Linked DNA regions of Homo sapiens: all the other regions are linked to region 1. The links are contacts of gene promoters, found by promoter capture Hi-C in blood cells and fetal thymus (Javierre and others, 2016). All regions are on one chromosome and are shown on one strand. The core of a region is centred on a gene start or on the middle of the fragment in contact, and the rest is flanking DNA. Distances in the headings are between cores, read along the strand shown.

What was found. The method cuts DNA at HindIII sites, captures the fragments that hold promoters and counts their contacts. A CHiCAGO score of 5 or more calls a contact.
Region 2: a fragment that was not itself captured here is called in contact with the fragment with the promoter of CAT in region 1 in 1 of 17 cell types (fetal thymus); the score reaches 5.3 in fetal thymus.
Region 3: the fragment with the promoter of CD44-AS1 here is called in contact with the fragment with the promoter of CAT in region 1 in 1 of 17 cell types (neutrophils); the score reaches 6.9 in neutrophils.

The regions. Positions count from the first base shown.
Region 1 is chr11:34,437,643-34,440,495 of GRCh38, reverse strand. CAT (catalase) reads right to left here and starts at 1,562. Exons shown (of 13, transcript NM_001752.4): 1 at 1,417-1,562. The coding sequence starts at 1,482. RefSeq lists enhancers at 1,230-1,529, 1,700-1,749. The HindIII fragment of the contact is 7,598 bases long and covers 1-2,354 here.
Region 2 is chr11:33,859,663-33,862,362 of GRCh38, reverse strand. The region is part of intron 5 of LMO2 (LIM domain only 2); the gene reads left to right. Among named protein-coding and RNA genes, the nearest start is that of LMO2, 31 kb to the left of the region's middle. The HindIII fragment of the contact is 4,505 bases long and covers 1-2,700 here.
Region 3 is chr11:35,213,723-35,216,640 of GRCh38, reverse strand. It overlaps CD44-AS1 (CD44 antisense RNA 1), which reads left to right and starts at 1,631. Exons shown (of 2, transcript NR_174965.1): 1 at 1,631-1,810. It overlaps CD44 (CD44 molecule (IN blood group)), which reads right to left. Exons shown (of 18, transcript NM_000610.4): 15 at 1,727-1,789. RefSeq lists an enhancer at 1,202-2,401. The HindIII fragment of the contact is 2,794 bases long and covers 1-2,516 here.

The DNA of each region.
Region 1 (2,853 bases), core at 313-2,812:
AATTCACCGAGTATTCATGAAAACTTCAGTGTGAACCAGGATTTGCACCCACTGGGTAAGGAAAGAGTCTTGGGTCCAAGAAGCTGAATTCTAACCTTGTCTCTGCCACTAAGTAGTGGCACATCCTTTACTAAGACTCTACCTCTCTCTGGTTTACTTTAAGAGCTCATGAACCAACCTAATGGTATATAACAAAGAACAGGGCCAAGAGGGGAGATTTTCCAGGCCCTTGGAGGAGAATGGCAGCCTTTTCCCAAACAGGGAACCATTAAAGCAATCCATGAGCACTTAGCATTAATACCCCAGTTCACGAACCTGAGTTTTGAGCAAGAGCACTAGGCAGAATAGGGAAAACAGGGCTGCAGTCCTCTGTCTACCATTAACCAGCAGCCAGGGAACAGGGCAAGACCTTTAGACTCCCTGGGCCAATCTGCCAACAGTAGACTCAGACCAGATGTGGTCTCATCTAATCCAACCTCCTCATAGATGCCCTCTGAGACTCTGCAGCCGTGGGCACAGGCCAGGAATGCCTCCCCCACCACCAAGTTAAAATCCTACTCATTTAAAAAAATTCCTGTTCAAATGTCACCTGCTTTGTCCGGCCCACCTGGTCACTCCCTCTACATTCTACAGATAACCTCTATTAGAGCCCTCACCACGCTGGAGTGTAATCATCTGTTTATGTGTCTCGTCTCCCAGACTAGACTCTCAGCTTCTCAAGGGTGTTGTTCTTGCCGCACTGGAATTTGTACACCTTGCCCCGAACAGTGCCTAGCACCTACAGGTGCTCAAAGAATAGAATAAACGCATTAATCAATCCCTAATGTCACCCCCCAGCTCTAAAATGCTAGGCTTGACATTTTGAAGTGCAAATGAGACAATGAATGTAAAAGTTCTTTTATTTAGTCGTTTAATAATGTGCATAGTACGTACCAGTCACTGTGACTGGTGCTGGAGACCTCAAGATTGTAAAACACAATCCCTGCCCTGCTGGGACCCCACAACTATGAAAGCGTGTAAACAGTATTTCAAGAAGGGCACCATTAGAGCCTGGTTCCACTTCTCCCCTCACTGACTTCCTTGCAGCTGCAGCTCTCTGCCTCTTTCCCCATGAGCCCTCAATCTGTCCTCAAGCTGCGACCTCTGTCCCAGTTGGCAAAAGTGCAAAATTCTGAAGCAACCACCCGAGCCTGTCGCGGACAACAAAGCCTGCAGTCCCGCGCCCCACTACCCGGACCCCCCTCCCCTGCTTCGGCGAATGTAAAAGTCCGTCTGCACCGAAGGGGATCCCCCCTGCCCAGTGAGCCGCGGTACAGTCCCTCCAAGCGCCGCCCCGGGGGAAGCCGGGCCTTTACTTGCCGACGCCCCCGCTTTCTAAACGGACCTTCGGGCCCGCTCGGGGAGCACAGAGTGTACCTGCGCGGCCCGCTGCTCCTTCCAGTGCTGCATCTGGTCGCTGGCGGGATCCCGGCTGTCAGCCATAGCGTGCGGTTTGCTGTGCAGAACACTGCAGGAGGCCTCGGCTCGTGGGTCTCCACCCTCAGCAGGCAAATCTGCCTGTTGCCCCGAGTCCGTGGCGACTTCAGGCTCAGCCAATCAGCACCACCCCCTCGTCCCGCCCCCTCGGGAGGACTGCCTTCTGATTGGCTGCTCGGCGCTAGGCAGGCCAAGATTGGAAGCCCAATGGGCTCGGAGCAGGGCTCTCCGAAGGAGGCCTGAAGACCGGAGATACCCAGGAGGGTGCGGAAAGGAAGGGTCCCGCTCTGGCCCAGCAATTGGAGAGCCTCGCCCCGCCGGCCCGGGGTGCCCGGGATAGCCGAACCCAGGGCGGGGCTCCCGGTTATCAGCATCCTTCAGGCCGCCCTGGGACGCGGCCGTTGGTGGCCTGCCAGTTTTGCAGACGGAATACTTAGACCCTGCTGGGTGGGGCCTTGCGCTCCATAGCTATGCTTTCTCAGCTCTTAAAAAGTCAGCAATCCTGGGTTAAATTACTCTGTACAAAATTAAATTTTGCCATACGCTAATGTAAGTATTATTTGCAACCAAAGGATGGATGGATGCTTTTCTTTTTCTTTCTTAGCTCTTCTTAACTTATTCGTGGATTATCACTTACTAGACTAGTATACTAATTATTTAATATAAAAACACTCTGAAACGTTTATCTCCGTACAGATGGGTGTTGATTTCCTCCTTTACCAGAGAAAAACAACTTAACTTAGATGGGAAAAATGTATTCCCTTGTGATGGGAAAAATGTATTCAACTCTGGTACACTGCCAAATTGGCTTCTTTAAACACTGGAGAAATCTGCTTCCCCAAATTTTACCCCCAGGTAAGCAGGAATTTTGAAAAGCTTTGTGTCTTTAAAAAGCTATGTTGAAGAGTAAAATACTTAGTAATATATAGTACAATATTTAGTAAGTTACTGACTAGTTTGTCATTGTAATCAAAGAGTTTGAATGATTTCTACACCTCCTCAGGTGCTAGGATTTATCTTTAAGCACCTTAATATATATACATAGTATATACCATCATCTTCAAATTAAAAGTTATCAGCTTTTAATTTTTTCCAGTACAACTACATATAATGGGTGGATATATAATAGTGGAAACTTCACATGTTGTTCTTGATCTTACAAAAGTATGATAAGAATCTTGGGCATAAAAGTGGAACTTTAGCAGTTCATTGGAAAAGAAAGCCACAAATTGATCTTTAGCACCCTATACTTTTCCTATATTAAAAACAATTATAAAGATGCTGTTGGCTGTGTAATTTGGTGTCTTTTTCTACCTGCCCGATCCATACTGCCAAGACTGTAAACTCCATGTGGGTCAGGATCCTCCCATCCATAAT
Region 2 (2,700 bases), core at 17-2,516, 580 kb after region 1:
TTTTAACAGCCAGCACCTGAATCTGTTAGAGCCAGAAGTATGCCTGCCCCAACTAGACCCCCAACGGACCTTAACCAGTGACAGACATGGTGGGAGTACCAAGCCCCGCAGCCTTGCCTGGAGCCAGGCATAACTTATATTCCAGGGTCCCTCCCCTCTGAGGGACTTTGCCTGAGGATACAACTTGGCTTGGCTTCCTCCCCTTCCCTCCAGCCTCCCCTGCTGCCTTCCAGGTTTTTCCTGAGAATGCCTCATTCATAAATCACTGGCACATCAATCCTTGCCTCAGGGGCTGCTTCTGGGATATCCAGCCTAAGATACCAATTCTTGGTGCCAGAGGTTAATGCTCAAGTTAGGTGTCAAGTCCCGGCTTATTTTTTACTAATATTAGAATCTCCGAATCCCAGAGCTGGAAGGGGCTACAGAGACCTTCTTTTTCAGTTCCCTTGCTTTATGGCTTAAGTCACAGAAGCCTGTACAGGGGACTCCATTTGCTCAGGTCACCTGGCAAGTTAGAGGTCATGCTGGGACCTGAACTTGTCTCCCACATATTCGTCCTTTGTCCTTCCCTTCATAGCTGCCTGATGTGGGTTGTAATTTACCCCCTGACTTCCCTTTAATAAGCTCCCTCCTTCCTTAAGGATCGCACACCCCAGGCAGTTGGATTCATTCCATGCACACTGTTTTCTCAGTCGTTCATCCTTGCTCAGGCCCAAACTTAACTTACAGAGCAGTCAGGAAACCAGAACTGTCTTTCCACTCTGTGACCTCCAATGTGGCGGTTACCTGCAGCTCCACCATCTGCTACGTTGGGATAAAATGTTCTCCCCCCAGTAATGAGTTTGCTCCCAGGCGGTGCTTTGAAAACACTCAGAGATCTTCAAATGGAAAGCAGGATTCAGAGGCAAATTAGCTGGCCCTGGCCCGAACAATGAGCTCTCCACTCACAGACCACCTCTTGTCAATTCCATTAATCTCGCCCAAATATTGCAAAATGTGTCAACTGCCCTTAGGTCCCCTACAACCTCTCAGAATGTACCCACTGATTCTCTGATATCCTGAAATCAACCAGAACTTCCAATAAGAGCAAGCATTCACCTAAAACTGTCCTAAAGGTTTTATGTAGAAACCACCTGCTAACATGCTATGTTTTCAGCCACGAGTGAAAATTACTTCCTGCAGCAAGACTGGCACAGCTGGGAATACACCCAAGATGTGTTAAAACATAACCAGCGTTGGCTTAGCCCTTGACCATGGGTGCCCTGACATGCTTCGTTTGGTTGTTTTAACAGCTGAGTGAGGTGGAGCCTATGATGGCTGCCATTTCACTGAGGCTCAGAGAATCAGAGGTCTCTCCAGGGTCACTCAGGGCTGGTCCGGGACATTGAAGCTGGGTCTTCTCTGCTTCCGGTACTTGTGTTACTGCACTTTTGCTGTTGATTCTCAAATGTCAGCCTGCAACCAGTCCCCCGGAAGTGTTCATTAACGCACAGACTGCTGGGCCTTCTCCCCAGGGTGTCTCAGTTGGGTAGGGAAGGAGGAGGGCTGAGAATTTGTTTTTTTGTTTGTTTGTTTAGTTTTTGCTTTTCTTTTGAGTCAAGGTATGGCTCTGTGGCCCAGGCTGGAGTGCAGTGGCATGATCTCGGCTCACTGCAACCTCCACCTCCCGGGCTAAAGCCATCCTCCCACCTCAGCCTCCCAAGTATTAATAGCTGAGACTAGAGGCATGCACCACCGCACCCGGCTAATTTTTGTATTTTTTGTAAAGACACAGTTTCACCATGTTGCCCAGGGTGGTCTCGAACTTGTGAGCTCAAGTGATTTGCCTGCCTCAGCCTCCCAAAGTGTTGGGATTACAGGTGTGAGCCACTGCGCCCAGCCTGAGAATTTGTATTTCTGTCAGGTTCCCAGGCAGTGCTGATGTCGCTGGTCCCAGGACCAACACTTTGAGAACCACTGCACTGAGCCCTGCCATGTTCTGTCTCCCACCTTGACACTGAATACTGCCTGAAATAAGTGACTGATCAACTGAGGCTTGGGAGAGTCTTGATTTAAATGTCAGAAAAGAAGTTTCCCTTTTGATTCATGCCAGTGGGCAGCGAGGGCCATGAATTAAGATCCTCCCTTCATGGTGGAGAGATGCTGTTGGTCCTCCATATCTCAGAGGCACGATTAGCTGCACCGCGTGTTTTCTGTGGAACTCCCTGTCTCCCAGCAGCTGGGGCCCCAGCGAATAATCAGGGGGAGATGTGCTTTGCAGCTTATGGAGGTATTCAAGGCCAGCTCTCCCCATGGGTAGAATCAGTGGCTGTTGACATGATAGAGTTTGGGAGCCTCAGAAGAATGCCCGTTTTATTGCATTCCTGGTCAGTACCCTCTCAAAGGGGCCCCTAGGGTCTCTCTCCAGCTGCTCTTCTGAAATGAGGGTTCCCCTGGGAGGGGACAGGTAATACTTGCCTAACTCCTTATGATAGATCACATCAGCTGAGAGCCTTGCCCACAGAGGAGGAGCCAGGGGGCAGCCTAGGGGAATGATGAGCGGTTGCTGCAGACAAGGAGAGGGCTCAGAAAAGGGAGGAGTTATGCCAGATCCAAATGCCAGTTTCATCTGAGTTCCCTCTGCCTGCTGGTGAAGACTGCACTAGCCGGCCCTCCTTCTGGAGCCGACCTTCCCTGGCTTCCTGACATCCTGAAAGTTCG
Region 3 (2,918 bases), core at 382-2,881, 780 kb before region 1:
AGATGATTTGATCTCCTTTTTACTAACAAGGAAACTGAGTCTGGGAAAGGTTAAGTGCCCTGCCTAAAGTCCCCAGTGAACCTGTGACTTCTGTCTCTATTTCAGAAGCATTTCTAATGAATCCCTACCTCCTAGTGCTCCTCCATAGAGAGTTATTGTGGAAGCCACCATGTAAATATCCATCTTCATATTTGTTTTCAATGTGTAAACATTTAAATCTGATGGTGAGCCTCACTCAAACTTGGGCATAAAAAGGGGAGACAATAATTGATATGGCTTAAATCATTTACATGGGGTCACCTGGATTTATGATGTTCAGGGAGACCACAGTAAGGCAGCACTGGCAGAACCTCCCAGTAGCCCAGCAGTAGAAGTAATTAGTAAACCTACCTCATGTCAGACTTTTGCAGTCTGGGGTAAGGTTTGTAGGGGTGTGATCTGAATCACAACAAACAGGAGTCTATTTAAGAATTCATGCCTGGGAGTAATTATGGTCATTATGGAATGCCTTCTCCAGACTGTGCTATGAGAAGTAATACAAGGCCCTCCAGGCTTGAAAGGTGGCTCCATCACTCTCTGGTCCTGTCAACTCTGCCAAGTTACTTACCTTCTCTGAGCCTTAGTTTCCTCATCTGTAACATGGGGATAATAATAGTACTTACCTATGTCACAGAGTTTATAGGATGACTGAATGAGTTCATACTAGATAAACTCTATGAATTTGCTGATATTAACCTGTTTTTTTGTTTTTTGTTTTTTGGTTTTTTTTGAGACAGAGTCTTGCTCTGTCACCCAGGCTGGAGTGCAGTGGTGCAATCTTGGCTCACTGCAAACTCTGCCTGCCAGGTCCGAGCAATTCTCCTGCCTCAGCCTCCTGAGTAGCTGGGATTACAGGTGCGCAGGACCACGCCCGGCTAATTTTTGTATTTTTAGTAGAGACAGGGTTGGCCAGGCTGGTCTCGAACTCCTGACCTCGTGATCCACCTGCCTCGGCCTCCTAAAGTGCTGGGATTACAGGTGTGAGCCACCGTGCCTGGCCGATATTGACCTGTTCTTGACCTACAATAATGGCAGTTCCATTTGGCCCAACCTAATACATGTAAAGTGTTTAGAAAGATGCTGCTGGCACACAGTAAATTCCCAACAAATACCAGTGATGATATCATGTGCCAGGATTATGCTAAATGCTTTACATGTATTCTATCATTTAGTCTTTGAAACAATGTCCTGTGACAATTGTTATTATTCCAAGTTTATTAGTTGAGAAATGTTGTCTCAGACCCTTTAAAGCATCTTGCTCAGTTAATATGCGGAGGGCTGGAATCGAACTCAGGCCATTTTTGCTACAAAGCTCAAGCTCTTAATCACTCTGGTGTAGTGCAAGGTTAAATTGGGACACTGCTTGAATTCTTCCTGAGGCTTTCAGATGCAAGGCTTTCCTCCAGAGCAGTAGCTCTCAAAGTGCAATCCCTGTCCCAGCAGTGTCAGTATTACCAGGGAACTGATTAGAAATGCAAATGCTTGGGCTCCACCCCAGACCTACTGAATCAGGAACCTTAAGGGTGGGGTCCAGCATTGTGGTTTAATAAGCCCTCCCTGCAATTGTGATGTATGCTAAGAAGGTTTGAGAACCACTTCTCTGGAGACACTGACTCATACTTCGTTGGTAGTCATCATTAGGCTCAATGATTATAACAGTAAATGACTAAAGCAGTTTTGAACTCACCATCTGATTCAGATCCATGAGTGGTATGGGACCCCCCACTGGGGTGGAATGTGTCTTGGTCTCCTGTAATGAGCAATCAGGAAGGTCAGTACTGCATGTTTTCACTTACACTCCCATCTGCATTTCTTTACCTTTGCATTCTTATACAGCCTATCACAAAGTTTAGTCTTTTTAAGGTATTCCAAAAAATGATGGCAAAACAGCCTTGAATGGGTCCACAATGTTAATTACCGTTCATTGCTTAATCCACTGATAAATGAGCTAGAACTTTAATAAGAATTAAGGAAACTGGGGCAGCAAAGGCTAAGAAGGATGACCACAGGAAGTTTTGTAGAAACTTTGTTTTGGTAGAAATCCAAGAACTGTGGTAAGGAACATGCTAACAAAAATATTGTGATATCTTTGCAGGTATGAGGTTGAGACTAGACATTGTACATTTTAAATAAGGACAATATGAATTGGATTATGAGAAACATAATCACTGCAAATGGGCATACTCTGGCTTAGGGCATGAAACAGAGATTTCTTGGCGGCAGGAAATTAGTATGCAATAAGGAATCTTGGGATTGAATGATGTAAAGATTCAAAGAGAAAGGTCAACTACTTATTTTCAAAAAAAATTGAAAATAAGTAAAAAAGGAAATGGTGAGATGATAGCTAACATTAATAATGTGTATTGGAATATGGGTATTATAGTAAGTTTAAAATAATTTTTTAAAGTTAAATCTGTAGTTTCAACATGACTAGTTAATATAATCCTAGCTTCTCAAACATCTATCACCAGAAAGCTTTAGATTAAGACAACCTCATGAATTGCTAGAATCTAAATCCATAGGTCAAATCTTGAATGCAGCATATTAAAACTCTCTCCCCCACCCACATTTTTCAAAAGCATACTGGAATCTTTTTTTTTTTTTAATCACAGGACAATGCTTACATAAAATGGCTACAGTTATCCATTATGAAGGCACCTTATAAGGAATCTATAGTAACCTGATCGTCACCATTTCCTTGATTAGAGAAGGTGGAAGCGGGTGACACTTAGTCACCTGTGTAACTATATTGAAGAGACAGATTGCTTTGTTCCTTGGCTGATGGTTAAAACAAATGAAAACAACATTTGCTGAAATGCCACACCAATACTCCCACTACCAAAATCACCATGACCGTCACCATCCCATCACCATCATTA